2 separate regions of the Homo sapiens genome follow, and region 2 is linked to region 1. Evidence: promoter capture Hi-C in 16 types of primary human blood cells and fetal thymus (Javierre and others, 2016). All regions are on one chromosome and are shown on one strand. The core of a region is centred on a gene start or on the middle of the fragment in contact, and the rest is flanking DNA. Distances in the headings are between cores, read along the strand shown. Region 1 holds the start of REG4 (regenerating family member 4). Region 2 has its middle 38 kb from the start of ADAM30.

What was found. The method cuts DNA at HindIII sites, captures the fragments that hold promoters and counts their contacts. A CHiCAGO score of 5 or more calls a contact.
Region 2: a fragment that was not itself captured here is called in contact with the fragment with the promoter of REG4 in region 1 in 1 of 17 cell types (M0 macrophages); the score reaches 5.1 in M0 macrophages.

The regions. Positions count from the first base shown.
Region 1 is chr1:119,808,647-119,813,440 of GRCh38, forward strand. It overlaps REG4 (regenerating family member 4), which reads right to left and starts at 2,814. Exons shown (of 6, transcript NM_032044.4): 1 at 2,763-2,814; 2 at 57-217. The coding sequence starts at 123. The HindIII fragment of the contact is 5,277 bases long and covers 1,854-4,794 here.
Region 2 is chr1:119,856,416-119,861,092 of GRCh38, forward strand. No RefSeq gene overlaps it. Among named protein-coding and RNA genes, the nearest start is that of ADAM30, 38 kb to the right of the region's middle. RefSeq lists a silencer at 2,251-2,545. The HindIII fragment of the contact is 461 bases long and covers 2,718-3,178 here.

The DNA of each region.
Region 1 (4,794 bases), core at 1,564-4,063:
ATGGGCTGTGTGAACACTGGCTGTGGCTCAGTTCCAGCTACGTGATGGATACTCACCACCCAGGACTCCTGTTTTGGCCAGGCAGCTCAGCAATAGGAGCAGCCGCATGCTTCTGGAAGCCATCTTCCTCCTACCCTGAGGATGTAGCTAGTGCAAGGATCTCAGAGACCTTACTAGCGCTTCTTTGAAACTCCTGGGTTCTCCTTGATCTGCAAATCTGAACACATTTGCACAGGTGAGAAGGACCCAGGAATCTAGATGCCAACTAATACATATGGAGGAAAATAATACAATATTTTCCTGGCTAAATCCAGACTTTATAATGAAGGGAATCTCAAGTTAGATGTACAGGTTAGAAAATTTTAAGAGATTTTGTTCTTACCTGCAAGACCTCCTGGGCCAGTGCCAGAGATCTAACTATAGCAGGCTGAACAGTTTCATAGTCTGCATGGAGGCAATTTGTAAACCACCGAGCACTCGCCCCTGTTAGCTTCAGGAGGGCCAGCAGAGGGCGCCCAAGGCAAGCTTCCTCACAGGTAAGACGGATATGGGCATTCTGTTGTCAAGAAAATCCAATAGAATGGCTCCGACATTGAATTTTTAAATGTTAAAATTAAACGTGAGCACAGTGTCCAATACCCACATTTTACAGATGAGAAAACCTGAGGTCAGTAAGTATGAAGTCATTTGTTCATGGACACCAGCTATAAGCAGATCTGACTCCATCAGCACTCTTTCCTTTACACTTAGTTGACATCATTTTTAAAAATAAAGAACATGGCTTTATCTTTTCCCCATTAGCAAACAACACATGAGCTATTAGAAAATCAATGCAAAACTAGAAAATAAGAAGTAAATCCCATCTCCAGGAGATAATTTGGTGAGTAGCCTACAGATATCTTTCTATGCACCTCTCTCTGTGTACAATTTTATAAAAATAAGATCATATAGTCCTATAGCCTGGTTTTGTTTCTCAGAAACAGATTAATTGTAATACATTGTCTTGCACTCACATAACTTTCATGCATTTTTTATTTTTTCTTTAGTATAAATTCTCATATATAGGGTTGTGGCATCACACAACATGCACATTGTCATTTTAATACCCTTTGTTAAAATGTATGGGCTGTGATATTTACCTCATTAATAGGGCACTAAAAGGATTGGTTCCCTAAGCTCCCAGAGAATGCTTAATTTTGTCAAGTTTTTGGCTAATTTTGGTATATTAAAGAAGAACCTTAGTGTTTTAAAATATTTTATAATTACTAATGAAGTTGAACATCTTTTTATATAATGATTTGCTTTTAGTATTTGGTGAATTTTCATTTTACAGTTTTGCACATTTTTCTATTTCATTGTTTGTGAGATCTTTTTTGTATGTTTATTTGTGAGATCTTTTTTGTATGTTTATTGCCTTTCACGTGTTACTAATAGTATTTCTCAGTTTGTATTTTTCTCTTACTTATTATAATTTTTGCCATTCTGAAATTTTCAAAAATATTGTTATTTTTTATGTTTTTAAAAATAATTTTTAAATTTATATCAAAAGACTGGCCATTACTGTCACATAAGGTTAAAATATTTATCACTGTTCTATTTTCATCTGTCTGGGCTTTGTTTTAACATAAGTATGAAACTGAGTTCTGGATTTCCCTCCCAAATAATTCTTAAAATGAGTTAATTCATTGAATTCACATTTAATCATACTTTATGATTAAAAAATCTGAATATACAATCTAACTCTCAAATAATGGATTGCTTAAAGAGAATAATGTAAATGATGACTTTTCTGGAAAATCAATTCTGGGGTCCATCTGAACACTTTAAGGCAACATTAACTGAGAATGAGACAAAGCTTGGAGAGTGTGGATGTGACCTTCCCCACCCCTTACTTCTTTTTAAATCATTGCGTGAACCTTGCACTTTGCTAAACTTTCCTTCCAAAAGTAATAGTGTATTTTCAATGTCCTCAAACCCCTTTAAAACGCAAACAGAATTTCTCTGTCAAGGTGACCATCTGGGGGAAGGGAGAGGCAGCATCTTTTTTACTAATCTGTGAATAATTTTTAGTGAACTGATATTCATTGAATGTCTGCATGTCATGTTCATAAGTAAGCTGCACTGGGCCGGGTGTGGTGGCTCATGGCTGAAATCCCAGCACTTTGAGAGGCTGAGGCAGGTGGATCACCTGAGGTCAGGAGTTCAAGACCAGCCTGGCCAACATGGCACAACCCTGTCTCTATTAAAAAATACAAAAATTAGCTGGGCGTGGTGGCAAGTGCCTGTAATCACAGCTACTCAGGAGGCTGAGGCAGGAGAATCACTTGAACCTGGGAGGCAGAAGTTGCAGTGAGCCAAGATTGCACCATTGCTCTCCAGCCTGGGAGACAGAGCAAGACTCCATAAAAAAACAAAAACAAAAACAAAAACAGAAACAAAAACAAAAAACCTGCACTGTAGATCTCATGAATGCATGTTACAAATGAAGACACTGACACTTATGATTGAGTAACTTTTCTAAAGTTTCCCAGCTACCAGACTGCAGAGCCAAGATTTAACCCAACAGCTTGACACCAAAGCCAATGCTCTTTGCAGTGAAGGAAGAAAAGAAGGTAAATAATTTAAATCAAACAACACAGCAACAGAAAGCCTGACAAGCCTCACTAGAAATACAATTTGTCATTTCTGGCCTGGCTAATAGCTGACAGAGGAAAACAGATGTTTAAAGAAAGTCCCCCATCATCAACCGCGAGGAGGATTACCTGTTTGGCAACCAAGACTCTAAGGGCCCCTGCCTTCTTCAGTGTCTCCAGTGGTCCCAGTCAACGTTTCTGGAGCTTTTATATCTTCTTGCCTCAGGAATTAATAATCTTTACTTTAGTCACAAAGCGATAATATTATTTGAGAAAAACAATCCATCCATAAAAGTCTTATCTACAGTGAAAAAAATGAATCATATAAGAGACGGCTTCAGAATGTACGTAAGGTGTGCTTTGACTAGCCAGGAAAAGAACCTCTCCCTGTGTGCAAACAGAATCTTTTCTTCACATCACGTTATTAAAACTGACAACATCCTGTAATCTGTTATAAGCCCATCTTCCTCTCCCCTTATGTTACTTTTTCATGGCTGTCTTTTTATGCCTTGGTATGGTGGATTTCCTTTATTTCTCTTTTATTTCTAGAAGGATTTTCTGTCAGGGTCAGGAATAGGTTATGACCCATGCGGTGAGACTTGAGACCCACACACAGATTTTCCTTCCTAAAGCACCGACTCCACTCCTTCAACATGCGTGAGTTTCCTCAGAGATCTACTATTTGAGCTTCTCCCGCAGAACATGGATGATCATGTCAAAATAGCTTACATCAACAGAGTGTGTTACAATAACGGGTTTTCAGTGAAGTCATCAAATAAGATGCCAACAAAATCCTTGTGAGCAGCATAGGACACATATCCCCATTACACACTCAAGAAACCCAACCTTAAGAGAGATTAGAAACCTTCCGAGGTTCACAACACTGGTCAGCAGTGGACCTGGACACTGAACCTTGTCCTTCTGACTCCAAATATAGGTGTTTGCCAAAATACAGTTCTACTGAAAAATAGGCTATTTGAAAAGAGTAACAAGATTTTCTTTTCCAGTATAGATGGCAAAGGGTTAGGTTGTAGGTGCCAGAGATGACTCAACTTTAAACTACAGATTTAAGTCTGTAAAGGACCTTTATGTCTGGAAACTTTAAGTCTGGAAGGGACCATAGTAGTTATCAAATCTTACTCTTTTGTTCTACTGGTGAGGAAATTGAGGCCTAGAGAAACATTGTGACTAGTTTAATGCACAGACAGTTGTGGGTGAAGCTGATATCAGAAGCCAGCTTCCTTGCTCCCAGCTCACTGTTGTTTGGAAAATGCTACTCAACCTTTGTTATTAGATTTTTGCATCAGTTGTGTAAATTCATGGTAGGACATGAGAAAGTAATGCTTTCATGGTTCACAAAGAACATTTTAAAGAATCTCTCCCATCAGAATGTTTGACACAAACCTCTTTCTCTTTAGGCAGCTGGATGGGAATCATCATTGCTTCATGGCACAATGGCGTACAAAGATGTTAACTCCAAGCCTTTCAATTTCAGAAGTCCTGGTCCAGATGTAAGACAGAAAAGTTTTAACAAAATGGGTGATTAGATAGATCTCCTGTGTTTCCAGCAGCCATCCCAACCCTTAGTCTGCTATCCCCATGCCATTATCCAGATTTAAAGACTTGAGATGAGAGAGAAGAGAGTAGAACAGATTAGAAAACAAGATGTTCATAGGACTTTTAAGAGGTCTCTTACTGAACCCTCACATTGACTAGCTCCAAATTAAGGCATTGATAGGACTCACATAAACCTTTGAGATGTAAGAATGTAAAGGACCAGAAAATTGTCTGAATCAAAAAGGTCCACTGAATAGTAAGTTTATTTAAAAAAAAAAAGTCTACATATAAACACCTCATACATGAAATGGTCAAAGTGAGAATCCTAAAAGCCCCAAATCAGCAATGATCACCTTCAAAGTGACAAGGATGGGGATGGCACCATAATGGAGAGATAAAGTGGAAGCCAGGCAGCTTTCGAATAGTAGCTTTATTTATTTATTTATTATTTTTAATTTCAATAGGTTTTTGGGGAACAGGTGGTGTTTGGTTACATGATAAGTTCTTTAGCGGTGATTTCTGAGATTTTGGGGCACCCATCATCCAAGCGGTGTATACTATACCCAACGTGTAGCCTTTTATCTCCTGCCACCCCCCACCCTTT
Region 2 (4,677 bases), core at 1,698-4,197, 48 kb after region 1:
CATGACAAAGTTTATCTCCCCACTAATTTAGTTATTTCATGATTTCTCAAAGTGATTTTTTTTTGTAGTTTTTGGTGTACTGGCCTTGAATAAATTTTGTTGACTTTCTTTCTTTCTGTCTTTCGAGACAGAGTCTCGTTGTGTTACCCAGGCTGGAGTGCAGTGATGTGATCTCAGCTCACTGAACCTCTGCCTCCCAGGTTCAAGTGATCCTCCTGCCTCAGCCTCCTGAGTAGCTGGGACTACAGGCACATGCCACCACGCCCAGCTAATTTTTTGTATTTTTAGTAGAGATGGGGTTTCGCTGTGTTAGGCATGATGGTCTCAATCTCCTGACCTCATGATCTGCCCACCTCGGCCTCCCAAAGTACTGAGATTACAGGTGTGAGCCACCTCGTCTGGTCTGTTGAATTTATTTATAAGCACAACATGTATTTAGATGTTACTCTAAATGAAATTGTATTTTTATTTCATTTTCCAAATGCTCATTGCTAATATACAGAAATACAAAAGACTACTTATATTGAGCTTATATTCTGCAATGTTACCGAACTCACTAATTAGTTTTGGTAGATTTTTGTAGATTTCTAGGATTGTTAACCTACACACAGTCATCATCTGTGAATAAAGACAGCTTCAATTCCTTATTTTTAAATTTTTCAATACTTTATTTATTTTTCCTACTTTTTTGCATTGATTTAGATCTCTAGTATAATGCTGAATTGAAAGAGTAACAACAGGTATTCTATTTTTTTCTCTGATTTAATAGAAAAGCATTCAATCTTATGCCATTTAATATAATGTTACCTGTGGGTTTTTCAAATCTGCACTTAATGAGGTTGGAATTGGTGCCTTCTGTTCTTATCAATCTGAGAGTTTTCTGGGGTTTGTTTTTATAAATCATGAAAAAAGTTTTCAATTTTGCCAAATGCTTTTACTGTGTATGTCAGGGTAATCATACAGTTTTTCTCTTTTGCACTGATAATACAAAAAAATATATTTTTTAAATATAAAAAAGATTTCTTGAATCAAGCTAGGACAGTTTTTTTTAATTATAAACTTTTAACAAATATATTGAAATGTAACTTACATACAAATAACTGCACATCATTAAAGTGTATAATTTTAAGAGTTTGATCACAGTATACATGAGTCAAAGAGAAAGGACAGAAAATACTAAGTATGGCTCAGCATATGTGGTCTGTCTTGGTGAATGTTCTATGTGAGTTTGAGAAGAGTTATTTGTTAGCTGTTCTTAGACGTATTTTGCTTAAATGTCGACTTGGCTAACTTCTGTCATTGATTGTGTGAATTAATTTTGTTCTAGTGGGCAGTAAAATTACTGCCTGATCACATTGGACTTATGTGGATTTGGCTTATGTTTTATTACAGTGGATTCACGGAAAGCCCACAGCATTTCCCAAGACCCTCTAATTTGGCAGGACTCAATCACCAATCCACCCCTTTGTGGATTTTGACAGGGTTTGATTTCAGGCTTTACTAGGGCTGGTCTAGAAGGGGTTTTAAAGCATGACACTTATTCCTAAAGCACAGCCATTCTAGTGTCTTAGTTGGATACCTGGGTGCTAATGAGGTGTGCATGGGTTCTTCCCACCCTGGATGGCAGGAACTCCATCATCCATTCCCCAATCCTCCTCCACCTCAAGTACCGCTGGTCCAAACTCAATTTTATAACAGCCACCCCTCTGTTAAATCTGTTAGTCTTTTCCTCGTGCAGGTACAGTCTAGTCCTTGATAAGTATGCACATGGAACCCCACATGGACTTCGAGAGCTCCCCCTCTGAACAGCTGTCTCCTATTGGTGCCCTGCCCTGCAGATTGCAATTTCTTCAGTGGCCTTGAACTCTGATCTCTGCCTTCTTTCTCAGCTCAGTGGGGCTGCCCTGCTCTGAGTGGACTCTAGCCCACTGTGCAGCTGCTGAGAAATTCTTCCCAGACAAAGAACTAGGAAATCACAGGGCTTCTCCCTTAAGTATCCTGTTGTACTGCCTGTTGTCCACTGTCTGAAAACAATTTTATGGTTGTTTATGGAGGCAGGATTGGTCTGATATGATTTATTCTAACAGACAGAAGCAGAAATCTGTTATACTCTTTAATTATTGTGTCTTTATAATATTATGGTAGACAGAATCCTAAGATGACCCCCAGTGATCTTTGCTCTTATATAATCACTTCTTCCTGAGTGTAGACAAAGCCAGTGATGAGCTATCACTCCTGTGATTCTGTTACAATTTGTGGCAAAAACAAGTCAGCAGATGTAATCGAGATCCCAAATCAGTCAAATCTAAGATAGAGATTATCTTATGAGCTTGACCTAATGAAGGTGAGTTCCTTGGGGGGACTGAGGTCTTCCTGGAGAGATGTGAAGTGCAGGAGGGTTTCCATGCAGGGCGATTCTCTCTGCTGGCTGGAGGAAGCATGCACTGGGAACACAGGAGGCCTCTAGGAGCAGCGAGAGGCCCCTGGCTGACAGCCAGCAAGAAAACAGAGATCTCAGTCCTACAGTCACAAGGAACTGAACTCAGCTGACAACCTGAGGAAACTTGAGAGGAAGTTCTTCCCCAGAACCTCCAGAAAGAAACCCAGCCTAATCTCAGCCTGTGAGGCCCGGAGAAGAAGACCCAGCTAATCCAGGCCTGAACTTCTGATCTGTGGACACTGCAAGAAAGTAAATGGTTGTTATTTTAAGCCTCTAAAGCTTGCAGTAATTTTGTATGCAGCAATAGAAAATTAATACAAATAAAATGAAGAAGACTTTGGAGTGGGGACAAGAATGAAACGGTGGGAAAGGGATGCCTGTATGCTGATACGGTTGATGCCTGTATGGTTGAATTGGGTCTACCATTCCTCAACTAATTAGCTATGGTCTATTAACGTGCGTAGCTATACACAAATACTGGTACTAGGTTGAATCCTGAGGGAGAAGATATTGCATTCTTGAGAGCAGACGAGAACATCCTGAATTTGGGGTCACCGTATCATAAGTCATATACCAGGTCCCTCTGGGAAGGCCTAGAGGAAGATTTACAGGATACACTTGTGACAACATTGAAGGCTTCTTTCTTCCCCAAAGGGACCCGATCTCCCCTCAGTCAAGAAGCTCCAGGTCTCAGAACTGGACGACAGGTTATAAATTCCCACTATACTGATTCCATCAAGCTTCTGTTCACAGAACTAGAGTTTATCAGTAAAAGATAGACTCATGGAAGTCTAGGCATTTATTCTCTTATTTTATATAAATCAGTTAATATGCAGGAACAAAACAGACTTTGAAGAAAGAAAGTCACAGTTGCCACAGGAAAACAGCTTCCACATCCTCATGAGTCATCATGAGTGTTCTGTTGGGAGGACTTGATATGAGGGTTTCCTCCTCATGGGCTAGTACAGATCCGGGGGAAATGTCATCAAGTCCTCGATTCGGAGTGTAGCAGCTGGGGCTGTTGATTTGTTAGGCCTCCTGCAGCTGGAGATGCAAGTAGTGCATTTTCATGTCCACCGCAGGTGTCCTTAGGCTAGCATTTTCAGAGCCAGAATCCAACAAGCCATAGAAGCTCTGAGTATTTCCCTTTCCTCAGTCACCCACATAAAAGGCTTCAGGTCCTTCTGGGGAAGACCTGGAGGAAGATTTACAGCATACACTTGTGGCAGCATTGAAGGCTTCACTCTTCCCCAAGGGATCCAATCTCCTCTCATCTGAACTTGATACCAGGTCATAAATTCCCACTATGGTAACTCCAACAGGTCTCTGTCCTCAGAACTAGAGCTTTCCTAATTATTACATAAGTTGGTTTCTTAGTGGATTTCCCATCCATTACATCCCAGACACCTCACAATGATTGGTCACCACCACGTGTCCCTGCCTCTCAAGGAAATCCCTTCGGCCTTGTCTCTAGACAGCCGAGTCCCATGGCCTGTCCTCTACTCTTCCAGAACCCTGCTGTTCTCACTGACAGCAGGGAGGGCAAATCCATGCAGCATCTCCCGCCATGACCTCCAGCCTGCAGAGGAGAGGCGCCACAGGACCTTTACACACACACTGCTGTTCCCCTCACCCATGCATTTCTTAATGCCTTGGTGAGAAGAATGTCTCTGGATCTTCCTTGATGGGAGCTAAAAGAACAAAGGTAAATAATGTTATGGGACCCACTGAGAATTGGGGCTGTGGAAGAGTGGCCACTGAAGTAATAGACAGATGCAGCTATTGCCAGATACTCAGTGCCAGAGCAGGGAGGGAGAGGGAAGAAATACGGACCTCACCTTCCTCTCACTTCCAGGCTCCACTGGGTGCCCCCCATTGCTAAACCTAACTGGAAGTGTGCACGCAGGGGAGCCAGGGATGCATTCTAGAAGGGACAAGCCCCGAGTGGCATAAGACAGGGTGGAAATGAGTGGAGAGTGGATCTGTGGTCAGGTGGAGGGGATGTTATAGGGGAAACAAAAGGAGCATACTAGCTAATAATGCTAGATGACACTAATATCCCAAAGTCTTTGCTCTATTCAGAAAAGAAAATTCAGCATAAAGCACTCAACCAGGAGTCAAGATATTATATTTTCAACTGTTGTTCCAACAGCTGTATTATAAAGGGCCAGTTCATTTCATGCCTTTTTAATTTGACTTAAACTGCCAGGTGGCATTGGGGCTGGCACAGCCATGTT